Regions from separate parts of the Homo sapiens genome. Here all the other regions are linked to region 1. Evidence: promoter capture Hi-C in human tissues and cell types (Jung and others, 2019). All regions are on one chromosome and are shown on one strand. The core of a region is centred on a gene start or on the middle of the fragment in contact, and the rest is flanking DNA. Distances in the headings are between cores, read along the strand shown. Region 1 holds the start of FAM135B (family with sequence similarity 135 member B). Region 2 overlaps FAM135B (family with sequence similarity 135 member B). Region 3 has its middle 35 kb from the start of FAM135B.

Region 1 (3,573 bases), core at 581-3,080:
ACCCATCTTCACCCTCATAGCTAATAGCTACTTCTCCAAGTTTCTTACATAGCCTTCTAGCGTATTTTTATGCCAATGCAAGCAATACAAATATGTGTATCTGTCTCCTTGTTTCACAACAGTTGTCTTATTTTAATATTATCTTATTTTATCTATTCTGCACTTTGCTTTTTCACTTAATAAATCATGGAGCTGTTTTATCCAGACAATACATCCAATACAAGTAAATCCTATGCTCCTGGCATATCTCTACTGCTGGGGACTAGAAAATGCAGAGGAAAATAATGAGTGCTTGCACTGACTTTCAAAAATAAGGTTGCATAAAAATGCAATGTCAATAGCAAAATAAATGCCATATGGTTATGAACACATTTAAGAGACAAATATTGTAAAAGAAAAGCACCCATTTTCTCTATTGAGAAATTCATATTTATTTGCCATTCACCAAACATTTACTGAGGGTATGCATTGCCCTGGGCTTGCTGGGTGCTGTGGGGAGGACAAGCAGGGTAGATAGCTCAGAGCCTCCATCTGCCCAGGCCCACTATGTCAACAGCCTCCTTAGGACACCTCTTTCTGCAGCCTTAATCCCCACCCTAGCCAGCACCACACACACTTCAACTAAGGTGATCTTCCCTTCATTCCCACCCAGCCTTTCTCCTGCTTAAACTGCTTCACTGCCCTCCTCCCCACCACCTTCCCCATTCCCTTCCCATCCTAAGGGTCACATTGTCAAATTCCAACCCCTTCACTTGGATCGCAAGGCCTTTGGTGTGCAGTGCCTGCCCTGTAAACCTCACCACTCGCCTGCCTCACCTCTCCTTGCCTGCTGCTGCTAGGTTCCTGCTGTTCTGTCCTGCCTCCAGGCCTCTGTACCCTGCTCCTCTTGTCCTGGAAAGAGCAGTCTTCTCTACCCTTCACCGCCCCACTCATTTGTTCTTATACCTTTTTTTCAGGTATCTTTCCCCAATTACTTGCCCCTGCCCCCAGCCTGACAGGGTTAGAGACTCCTCCTGCCAACTGCAATTGCCTGGTTCCATTCCCTGCTTCCTCCTGGGGTGTGAGTTAGTGCAGCCCAGTCTAATGGGGGACATAGTCATCCTCTAATGCCTGGTTCCATTCCCTGCCTCCTCCTGGGTGGAGTTAGTGCAGCCGAGTCTAGTGGACGGGTCACTGGGCTTCCGAGTCCCAGTCTTGGCTCCTTCTCTAAGGCTGTTTTGTCATCTGTCACAGGCATGCCACGAGAACTTGCCAGCACAGTGGTGGTGATAATTAGAGTTCCCAATGCCCCTTAAGAATGCTCAGTAGACGGGAGCTGGCTTAACCCTCCCCAATCTTCCTCTCCCTCCTCCGTGGACAGAATCTCACACGTCTGTGAACCCCCACGTTCAGCATGAAGTGAGGAGCCCATCGGATGACGGGCCGGCTGGCTGGTTGAAGGCCACTGCTGACTTCGCATTGGAGGTATGGGTTGCTCAGCGCTTTTACCCTTTCTCAGGCATCTACTTGTTGCCTGGGCTTCTCTTCCAAGTTCAACAGTCCCCTCCCAGCCAGTTCTCCGCCGCGCCCCGCCCCCGGATATCTGCAGGGACCCTTTTCCTGCCCGAGGCCTGGGGTCTTGGCTCGAGAGGGGAGCCCCGCCGCGGGGACTGAGCATGCTCGCGCCGGTCAGTCTGGGAGGGCCGCACGCGGGGCCGCAGCCTGCGCCCTGGGCACCCGGGCGGCCGAGCGGGCGGGGTTTGGCCGCCGGGCGGCCCGCCCCGGGCTCCCATCAGGGCCTCGCGGCGGAGAGGGACCGAGGTGGGAGCGCGTGAGCCGCGCCGCCAGCCAGTCGCGCAGCGTCTACCCACGCGGTGCGCAGCGGCTGCGGAGCGGAGCCAGCGGGAGCAGCAGGGCGGGCTCTCCCGGCCGCGAGGGCGCGCGGCGCGGCGCGGAGGGTCTGGCCGCGTCCCGGCGGAGGAAGGAGAGGAGTGAGGGCGCCAGAGGTGAGCGCAGCCCGGGAGGCGCCAGCCCAGCGGCGCGGGCGCAGCCGGTCGGTCCTTGCTTTCTTGCGGCGCTGGCGGCTGCGTTCCCCCGACCGCGCTGACAGCCTCGCGTCCTGGCGCCTGCTCGCTGGGGCTGCCCGGAGGCCGCGGCCGGGCAGCTGTTGCACGGAGAGGGGGGCAGTTGCGGGGTTCCATAACCATAGCAACCGCATCAGCACCGGCGGCGGCGGGCGAGGGCAGCATCCGCTCGCTCCTCCTCCAGGCAGCCTCGCCGCGGGGACCCAACACCAGCTCGCAGGTGCTGCGGACTCCCCAGTCCGCCCGCCGCCGCCGCCGCCGCAACTGTTGGCGGCCAGAGACGGCGAAAGAGGAGAGAGAGGGACCCAGGAGCGCGGCCCCCGGGGGAGAGAGAGGGGAGCCCTGCAGTGGAGACAGGTAGGTGAGAGCGCTTCGGGGTCGGCAGCTGCAAAACTCTCTCGTCGGTGGTAGTGACGCTTCTGCAAGCGTGGTTGCCAGTTGGATGGCTTTCTGTCACGGAACAGCGATTCCGCCGCAAAATGTGGTTTATCTCCCTCGATTTTCCCCAGTCTCTCTGCCCTCCAGGTTTGCTGCACATCTGGACAGGTCTTGAGGGGATAAGAAGGGCCAGGGCTGTGAAAGGAGCGGAGAGGCTGGGTTAATGAGGGGTTCCCCCCAGGAGTCCCAGATGGAGGCTGAGGGGGCGCATGCAGACCTTGGCCATTGGGGTCCTTGGAGCCAGGGAACCCGGGGGCCAGGCTCAGGAGAAGACCGCACTGGGGTGGAGGGGACAGTGGCAGCGATTCCCTGTGATCCAGGCGAATGCACAGACCCGTTCTTCCTGTGGCTTGGCTGGGGACAGGGGTGTGCGGGGACACTGCAGCTCAGCTGTGACATGGAAAGGGACCAGCTCTTGATCTGTAGAGCCAGCTTCAAGCCCAGTCACTGGAGGGGATGTTTAGACGAGGCAAGTAGTAACTGTTATTATTTTGGGACACAGGAGTATCATGTTATTGCCGTTGACTATTAGGGATAGGATGGGAATAGAAATAAAATTTTGAGCTAGCAGTCAAGACTATGCCCTCCCCTTCTCCCCACCTCATTTCTAGCTCCCCACCCCACTTTGCCAGCAAAACAAGAATCACATCGCTCATAGTGACAATCCTTGCTCCTTGGCCACTGGCAAACTATCTCGCTTTCAGACAGCTGGAGACACCGCTTCAGTTGTCCATTTGAACCAGGGGGCATTGTTTTCCATCAGGTTATGATGCTCTTGATGTTAAGTGATGTGTCAAAGCCGAGAGGCACCTGGGCTGTCCATACAGTGTGATGGACTGTTAACTACATCTGCAGGCTGGAGAGAGGGCCAGAGCTTGGGGAGTGATTACAAACTCAGATCAGCTGGGACCAGGGCCCCGGAAGAAGGAAGATAGCATGTGAATAATTAGGGTCTGAAAGTTCGTGCATGTAGGTAAGTAGGCCTCTGAATAATATCCAGGATAGGCAGCCATTGACTTTGAAAGGGCTCTTCCTTTATATCGTGGCCTCGGGGGACAGTCTAAGTCCCAGT
Region 2 (3,573 bases), core at 543-3,042, 36 kb after region 1:
TCCTGGCATTTACCCTGCCCTCCTCTCCCCAGTGACTCCAGGTAGCATTCTAGGACCTGCACACCCTCTGGGTGAGAGTTGGAAACCCACAGCTCTGGAGTTCTTTCTTGACTCTCTTTAAAAATATGCAGTCAGCAATAAAACTGCCTCCCTTGGAGTTGACTTCATTCATAGCAGAACACTGGAACCTTTATCCCACCCTCATGAATCCTTGAAAGAACTTAGATGTAACTTGCTCTACCAAATAGGAAAGTATTCTGCACAGTTACGAAAACAAAAATAAATGCCAAGATCAATGGAACAATGTGTTGTCCCCAAATGGCCTTTGGTATATGACAAGTAGAAATCAGTAGAAAGAGAAAGAAAACAAGTATTCCACATATATGTACATATATACATATATGTGGAATACTTTTAATGTATAACATATTACATAGATATGCAATACTTTGTTTTCTTTCTTTTTCTTCTCATTTCTACTTTGTTTCTGGAAGTATTTACATTGATGGATTTATCATCATCATTATCATCATCATCATTATTATCATCATCTATCAAGCCAACCTTGGATAATTGATTCAGCTGGTCATAGAGTTGAGTCAGGCTTCTGAGAGAAGGCTGACAGCTCATCTGTGTCATTCGGGCAGGATGACAGCCACATGAATCATGCTGCTCTGGGTGGGCGGTTATTAGCAACCTTCTCCCACCCTCGTGGGTTGAACGATACAGAGAGAAGATCAGCATTTTTGAGTATGTGCTGGTTTTAAAAAGAAATCAAGGGACAGTGCCAATGTGGCTATGTCTTGTAGAGGAAGGCAGGCCTGGGTTTAAATCCCAATAGTCATGGTTGTCTGTGAGGTCCTAGGATGATTTACATAGACTACTGACGTCTGAGCTTCATTTTTTATCAGAGAGTGATCCTATTCATTTCATAGTGTTCTGTTCAGGGTTAAATGCAATATGTATAAGGAACCTTGCACAGGTGCTAAATAGCTAGCTCTACAGAATTAGAGTATTGGCTTAACATTTCATTTGCATACCTTGACATGGACTTGAAAACCAAGAGAAGTTAAATGTCAATCCTGAGGTCATGTTTAAATATGTTTGTGGTAATTTATTGTGTGTGTACTCTGCCTTCATCATGTCACTGGGCTTCTCAAATCCTCTGGAAAGGAATTTTTGTAATCTCTTCACTACAAAAAGTCATAACATCTTAGAACTGAAACAGACCTTTGCTGACATCTGGCTTTATTTCCTTATTTTACAAATGAGAATTGGTGAGTTGTTTCCTTGATGACCAGGATGCATCCCCAGCACCCTGGTCCACTTCCTGGCTCAGGTGTGTGCTTAACACCCCTGCATATCTCAGCTGCCTTGCAGTGTGAGCCAGGACTGCTGTCAGCTTAACGTAAGAGTATCCATGACTAATAGTGGCTTCAACTCCTGTTTATTTAACTAGCCTGGAAGTGACCAGTGACTGACATTAAAAAAAAGAAACTTATAACAAAGGATTAACTCCCTGTTTTTTAAATGAGCATCTGATCCTTATCTCACCGGTTCCCTTTGCTGTGGATTGGAAGAGAAAATAGGAAAACCCAAGCTGTCTGAATACAGGAGCTTTGGCTGTATGATGCCAGGCCCCGCTCTGCAGGAGTCTGAGCCCTACCTCAGTCCAGATCTGAATCAGGGTCTATAAAGAGCTGAGGTTCAGGGTGGAGTTATTCTTTGCCGTCCTTAGCTATTGCCTTGTTGTCACATTGTTGCAGTAGAATGACCACAGCTCCCAACGTCACATCTCTGTTCAGGGAAGAAGAAAAGAGGAGTGCAGCACCAGCCATTTTTCTTCCTTGTCTGTTCTTTTTTTATAGAAAAAAAAATCCTTCCAGAAGCCTCCCAGAATATTTATTCTTTTATTTCATTAGTCAAAATGGAGTCACCTAGAGGAGCATCCTGGAAGAAATGCTGGAGAATGAATAACTGTCTTCTTTTCCCCAATCTTAATAGTCTGAAGCAGGCACAAATGTATACTCTGAGGCATGGGGAGGCCTGAGAATAAACAGCTCTTGGGTTAGACAGTCCCTGCCATGTTTGGGTGAAGGCCCTGTTGGTGTGAATTGGCTCTGAGACCTTTGCCATGTCCCTTTATCTTCACTTCCAGGGTAGGTGTGTTTCACCCTCCAGGCTGCTGTTTTGCATTTGGAAGAAGGCTTTAGCTTCTGGGGCTGTGGGTGTCTCAGGCACTGCAGCATAGCACTGGGTTGTTGAACTCATAGGCTTTGAAGCCAGACAGTCTATGGAATCTTCCATTCCTGGCTGCACTGCTTACTAGCCATGTGCCTCTAAGCAAATTATGTCCCTTACCTGTGCCTCAGCGTCCTCATCTGCAAAATGTAGGTATTGTGTCTGCCTTCTAGTAATAAATGTGATAATGAGTGGAATGGATAATGAACAGAAACTGCTTAGCATGGTGTATCACCCAAAGAAAGGGCTTAAACTATTGGTACAGCAAAGAAACAATAGTTAATCCTTACAGGATGCTTCCTATGGGCCGGCCTTATTCACAGTGCTTTTGCATATATTAAATCAGATCATCCTTATCTCAAATTGAGGAGGAAAGTTCTATGGTTCTATTCATTTTACAGCTGATGGAGCAGAGTACAAGGATGGGTGAAGTAACTCCCTTAGGCTGCCTGGGATTTAAACTGATGCATTCTGGACCCAGGGTCCATGGCCAATCTCTATTTTAAAGTGACTCACAGACTTTCAGAGGGGGCCTGCTTCTTATCTCTCCAGTTCCCTTTGCCATAGCTTGGAAGAGGAAACAGGAAAACCCAAGCTCTCTGAGTATAGGAGCTTTGGCTGCACAATGCCAGGGCCCCTTCTGCAGTAGTCTGAGCCCTACCTCAGTCCAGATCTGAGTCAGGGTCTGGAAAGAGCTGAGGTTCAGGGTGGAGTTATCCTTGAAGAGGATGAGACAGAGAAAAACTGACCATTCATCATCATCATCCCGCCAGTTTGAGTATTGAATCAATACAGCCTGTGTTTCTCATGATCGCCTGGTCCTTGAGACTGTTGATAAGGCATTAGAGAGCTTCATGGTTGTTGATAATCTGAGGAACGCCCTCTCTAGTGACAGACTGTCACGGACATGGAGGATTTTTTGAAGTGCCTTTTCAATTTTATGAGTTGAGGATCCTGCAGCCCTGGAGATTTATAATTGTCCCTGCCACTGCTGCTTTGTGCCTTCTTCTAGTTTCTGCCTTGTTTATCTGGTTTTCTTCCCCCATAGTATTTTGGCAATTGTGAAAAGTGGTTCTGGAGAAGTACCAACAAATGCTCTTACTGCCCGAGAACTGACACTTTTGGAGGCTACTGATGTTTACGGCAAAATAGCCTGAGTCCTTTAATGTCCTTCTTTGATTGTTCTACCAGCTACGATTCCTGCAAATCCCTGTCATTCTTCATCACAAAGTTATAGAGGTACTATGATCATAACTTTCCCCAGTTCCTTTGGCTGTGGGCTGATTTGGGGGTGGGGAGTGGCAGTGCTGCGTGGATTCAGACGCCCAACCT
Region 3 (3,573 bases), core at 610-3,109, 35 kb before region 1:
TGCAGAGTGTTTTTCTAGTGTAAAAGTCAGCCACTTATCAACTCCAGCAAATAGTTGCCAAAGAAAATTGTCATTCAAATATTAACAAATCTGATTTTTCCCAGTTAATACAAAAATTGAAATTTTTTACATAAAATTTCTTTTGCAGTACAAAACAGCCTGTCTGTTGGTGGAATTCTTCCTGTAATTCATGTATTTATAACCTGTCATCTAGTTCTGCTATGTCAGCTAAATGCTTTTCCTTGCCTCTTCTCTATGTTAATTCTCAGTTTCATAAGTCGGCCCATTTACTTCTGTGTCCACGACCATTGAATTTGTCTGCCCCATTGTCCAGAGTGACTTCATTTGCTTCCTAATGGGTATAGCTAGGGCCAGAGTTGGCATTGGACATAGTAGCCAAACTGTTGTCTTCAAAAAACACATCTAATCCTGGTCTTCCTTCTGAACTCAGTATTAAAACCCACAATGCCATCCTATTGATTTTAGGATAATGTACAAAGCCCTTGACCTGGAAGGGCAAGTCTGTTTCCAGTATTATTTCTGGCCAAGCCCATGGATGGCTGTGCTCTAGAGATGCACTCACCTTCATTGTGTTCCTCAAGCTTGGCAAGATCCAACCTACCAGGAAGCATTGACTCTTATTCCTCCCATTGTCTGGAATTCCCTATCCTACCTGCCAGCACTGGCTGACTTAGCTCCTGCTCATTTTTTAAAAACCTGAATTTAATAATCACTTCCTTTACTACGTCAATTTTACTTGCTAAATGTAGCTATAAATATATGAGACTCCCATACTTATGAGTTAGCCTTGATTAACATTTTATTATAAATCAGAAACCACAGTTTTCATTGGAAGTGTATAAGACCATTTAAAAAGATGAAAATGCAAAGCACTTAGCCATTATTCTTTGTTCAGGAAGATAAGAGAGATAGTCACAGAATTTTAGTCTGTATCTTGTCATCTTAAAGTTTAATTTCTGTCTCTTTTCTAATAGGACAAAGAACTTTCTGTTATATTCAAAGATTTATTTTTAAAAATATCTTCAGACCTATTTGCTTATAACTTTTAGATTATAAAAATTTATTTGTTGTTATGAATTATTATTGTTTATTTAATGTGGCTGTATTTGTCAAAAGAGGTTAAATTTGTTATCCATCCTTGCAATAATTAACCTGCTTACCCTGAACTCACTGTACTTATCATAAATTACTAATCATATATGAATTGCTAACTCTATTTTATTTTGTTTTTGGAGATGGAGTCTCACTCTGTTGTCCAGGCTGGAGTGTGATGGCACGATCTCAGCTTACTACAGCCTCCGCCTCTCCGGTTCAAGCGATTCCCCTGTCTTGACCTCCCAAATAGCTGGAATTAAGGCACGCGCCACCATGCCCAGCTAGTTTTTGTATTTCTCGTAGAGACAGGTTTTAACATGTTGGCTAGGCTGGTCTCAAACTCCTGACCTCAAGGGATCCGCCCACCTCGGCCTCCCAAAGTGTTAGGATTACAGGTGTGGGCCACCAAGCCCAGCCTTGAATTGCTAACTTTAAATTAACATATGAACATTATTTGAAAGCTTTCTTTCTAGCATAAGTACTAGCTAGTAAAAAGTAAAGAAAGGTCACTAACAGGTTAGTAACCAAATCTTATTATTCTACATTGAATGATTATTTCTGTCATAACCTTTCATTGTGCTTCGAGTTCCCTGTGGTAACCTTACAACTGATAGAAGAAACTTATCCAAAACTTGGAAAGCTGGCTGAGAGCGAGCAGCAAATCCTTACAGTGTCAGAATGGGGCATTTTTTTTTTTATCAAGTCCACTCAGTCATTATTTAATTATCTGGGGGAATTGACCTCTGCTTCATTTTGAAATTTGGTATTTAAGGTATCGAACTCTGTGTGGCATTTCCTTTCAACTTGTCCACCTTTGCTAGTAATGATGCAAATGACATTTGTCCTGTAGAAAAGATGACTCCAAAGGTTATGGTTTTATTACATTGTAGAACACTAACCCATTTTTTTGCTAATGCAGACAATTTATTTTCAGCAGGACTTCCTGGGGGCCATTTTGCCTACTACATGAGAAAAGTCTCTTTGATGAACGTGGCCAGATAGAGACAAACAGAACCAAATTAGGATTAAGTCCTCTCCAGGCTTCACCATGGGACTTCCTATTTACAGGAGGCAACACATTTCTATTGATTTGTGTTGTTACTTTGAAAAATATTGTTTTAAGTACTTTAAGTTGGGTACATGCAACGATGACTTTTGACTTTCACAGTGCATAGCAAATATGGTAGGAAATCTTATTGTTTGGCTTTTTAAGCAAGAGAAGTCATCAGCTACTTCTTGGCAATCATGAGAAAAATAACCTTGAATCACATCTTCATCGTTCTGCAAAGATGCACTTGACTATTCTCTTTCATGCAAGTGGAGTAAATGTCTTCTGTTGCAGGAGAAATAATATGCAAAGCTGATCACTACAGAAGGGGTGTAATGATCCGTGGAAGCAGTCCAGGTAAACTGGAGGTGATCAATAGGAATGCACGGAAGGGCCATGAAACTTCTGAAGTCAAGTGAATCTTGAAGAAATGAATAAAGCAGTCTTACTCCTTGGTCTTAAGTCAAGGTCTCACTAAGGAGGGCTGTGATGGATCGATTGTATCTTGGCCCTGATTTGTACATACCTCCCTGTTGCCCTTCCATTTGTAGTGCCCTTCCACATTGAATCTGAACTTGGGGCCACATTTTTGCTTTAGCCAAAAGAACTGTAGCAAATGTGACATTAGCAGAGATTGAAAAGCCCCTGCATATTGGGGCTTACTTCTTATTGCTCCTGGAATTCTACTGTCATGTAAACAAGCTCAGGGTAACTTGCAAGAGGACAGAACCCCTGTTGCTCCCATTACCCCCATACCCCTATAATCATAGTTAAAATTAATATCAGAGCCCCCAGAAACAGAGCTTTGTAGCTGATCTGCAGCTGTTCACAGATACGTAAGTGAACCCAGCTGAGACAAGCAAAAGAACCACTCAATTGAATCCAACTTCCCAATGCATAGACTTATAGTGGCTTTAAAGCCCTGAGTTTGAGGATGTTTTGTTATGCAGCACAAGCTAACTAATACAAGACCTACTTGTGGCATGTGGGTGGCTGAGGCTAGAATATCCCCAAGTCAGAGTCACCCTGCCACAATACTGTGCCTTGAGGAACAGAATTGTGAGCAGTAACCATGGAATCTGGAGCAGGCAGGGTTCTGGTTCAGAAAGTATACCACAACAACAACAGGCAATATTTGTCTGCTGCATGATACGGGCACCGTCTTCATCTGCTGCATTCCCTAACAACATGCAATAGTTATAGGCTGATCAGATCCAAGTTTCTTCTCCAGTTGACAGTTAAATGCAGGTTTTTAAATCCTTTGAGACCAAGTAAATACATGGATATCTAGAACATTCAACTTTGGATGAGGCAGGTTCTAATTGTACATGCAAGTATCTGAACAATAACTGAAAAAATAGAAGAGATATAACCATATCTATTCCCTGAGCATTTGGAACATGTCATAC

What was found. The method cuts DNA at HindIII sites, captures the fragments that hold promoters and counts their contacts. A contact is called where the count stands out against the background at its distance.
Region 2: a fragment that was not itself captured here is called in contact with the fragment with the promoter of FAM135B in region 1 in 3 of the 25 tissues and cell types used here (adrenal gland, dorsolateral prefrontal cortex and spleen).
Region 3: a contact is called between a fragment that was not itself captured here and the fragment with the promoter of FAM135B in region 1, in 3 of the 25 tissues and cell types used here (pancreas, spleen and stomach).

Annotation. Positions count from the first base shown.
Region 1 is chr8:138,495,518-138,499,090 of GRCh38, reverse strand. FAM135B (family with sequence similarity 135 member B) reads left to right here and starts at 1,830. Exons shown (of 20, transcript NM_015912.4): 1 at 1,830-2,420. The HindIII fragment of the contact is 12,849 bases long and covers 1-3,573 here.
Region 2 is chr8:138,459,014-138,462,586 of GRCh38, reverse strand. All of the region lies in intron 1 of FAM135B (family with sequence similarity 135 member B), which reads left to right. Among named protein-coding and RNA genes, the nearest start is that of FAM135B, 36 kb to the left of the region's middle. The HindIII fragment of the contact is 7,584 bases long and covers 1-3,573 here.
Region 3 is chr8:138,530,525-138,534,097 of GRCh38, reverse strand. No RefSeq gene overlaps it. Among named protein-coding and RNA genes, the nearest start is that of FAM135B, 35 kb to the right of the region's middle. The HindIII fragment of the contact is 3,849 bases long and covers 1-3,573 here.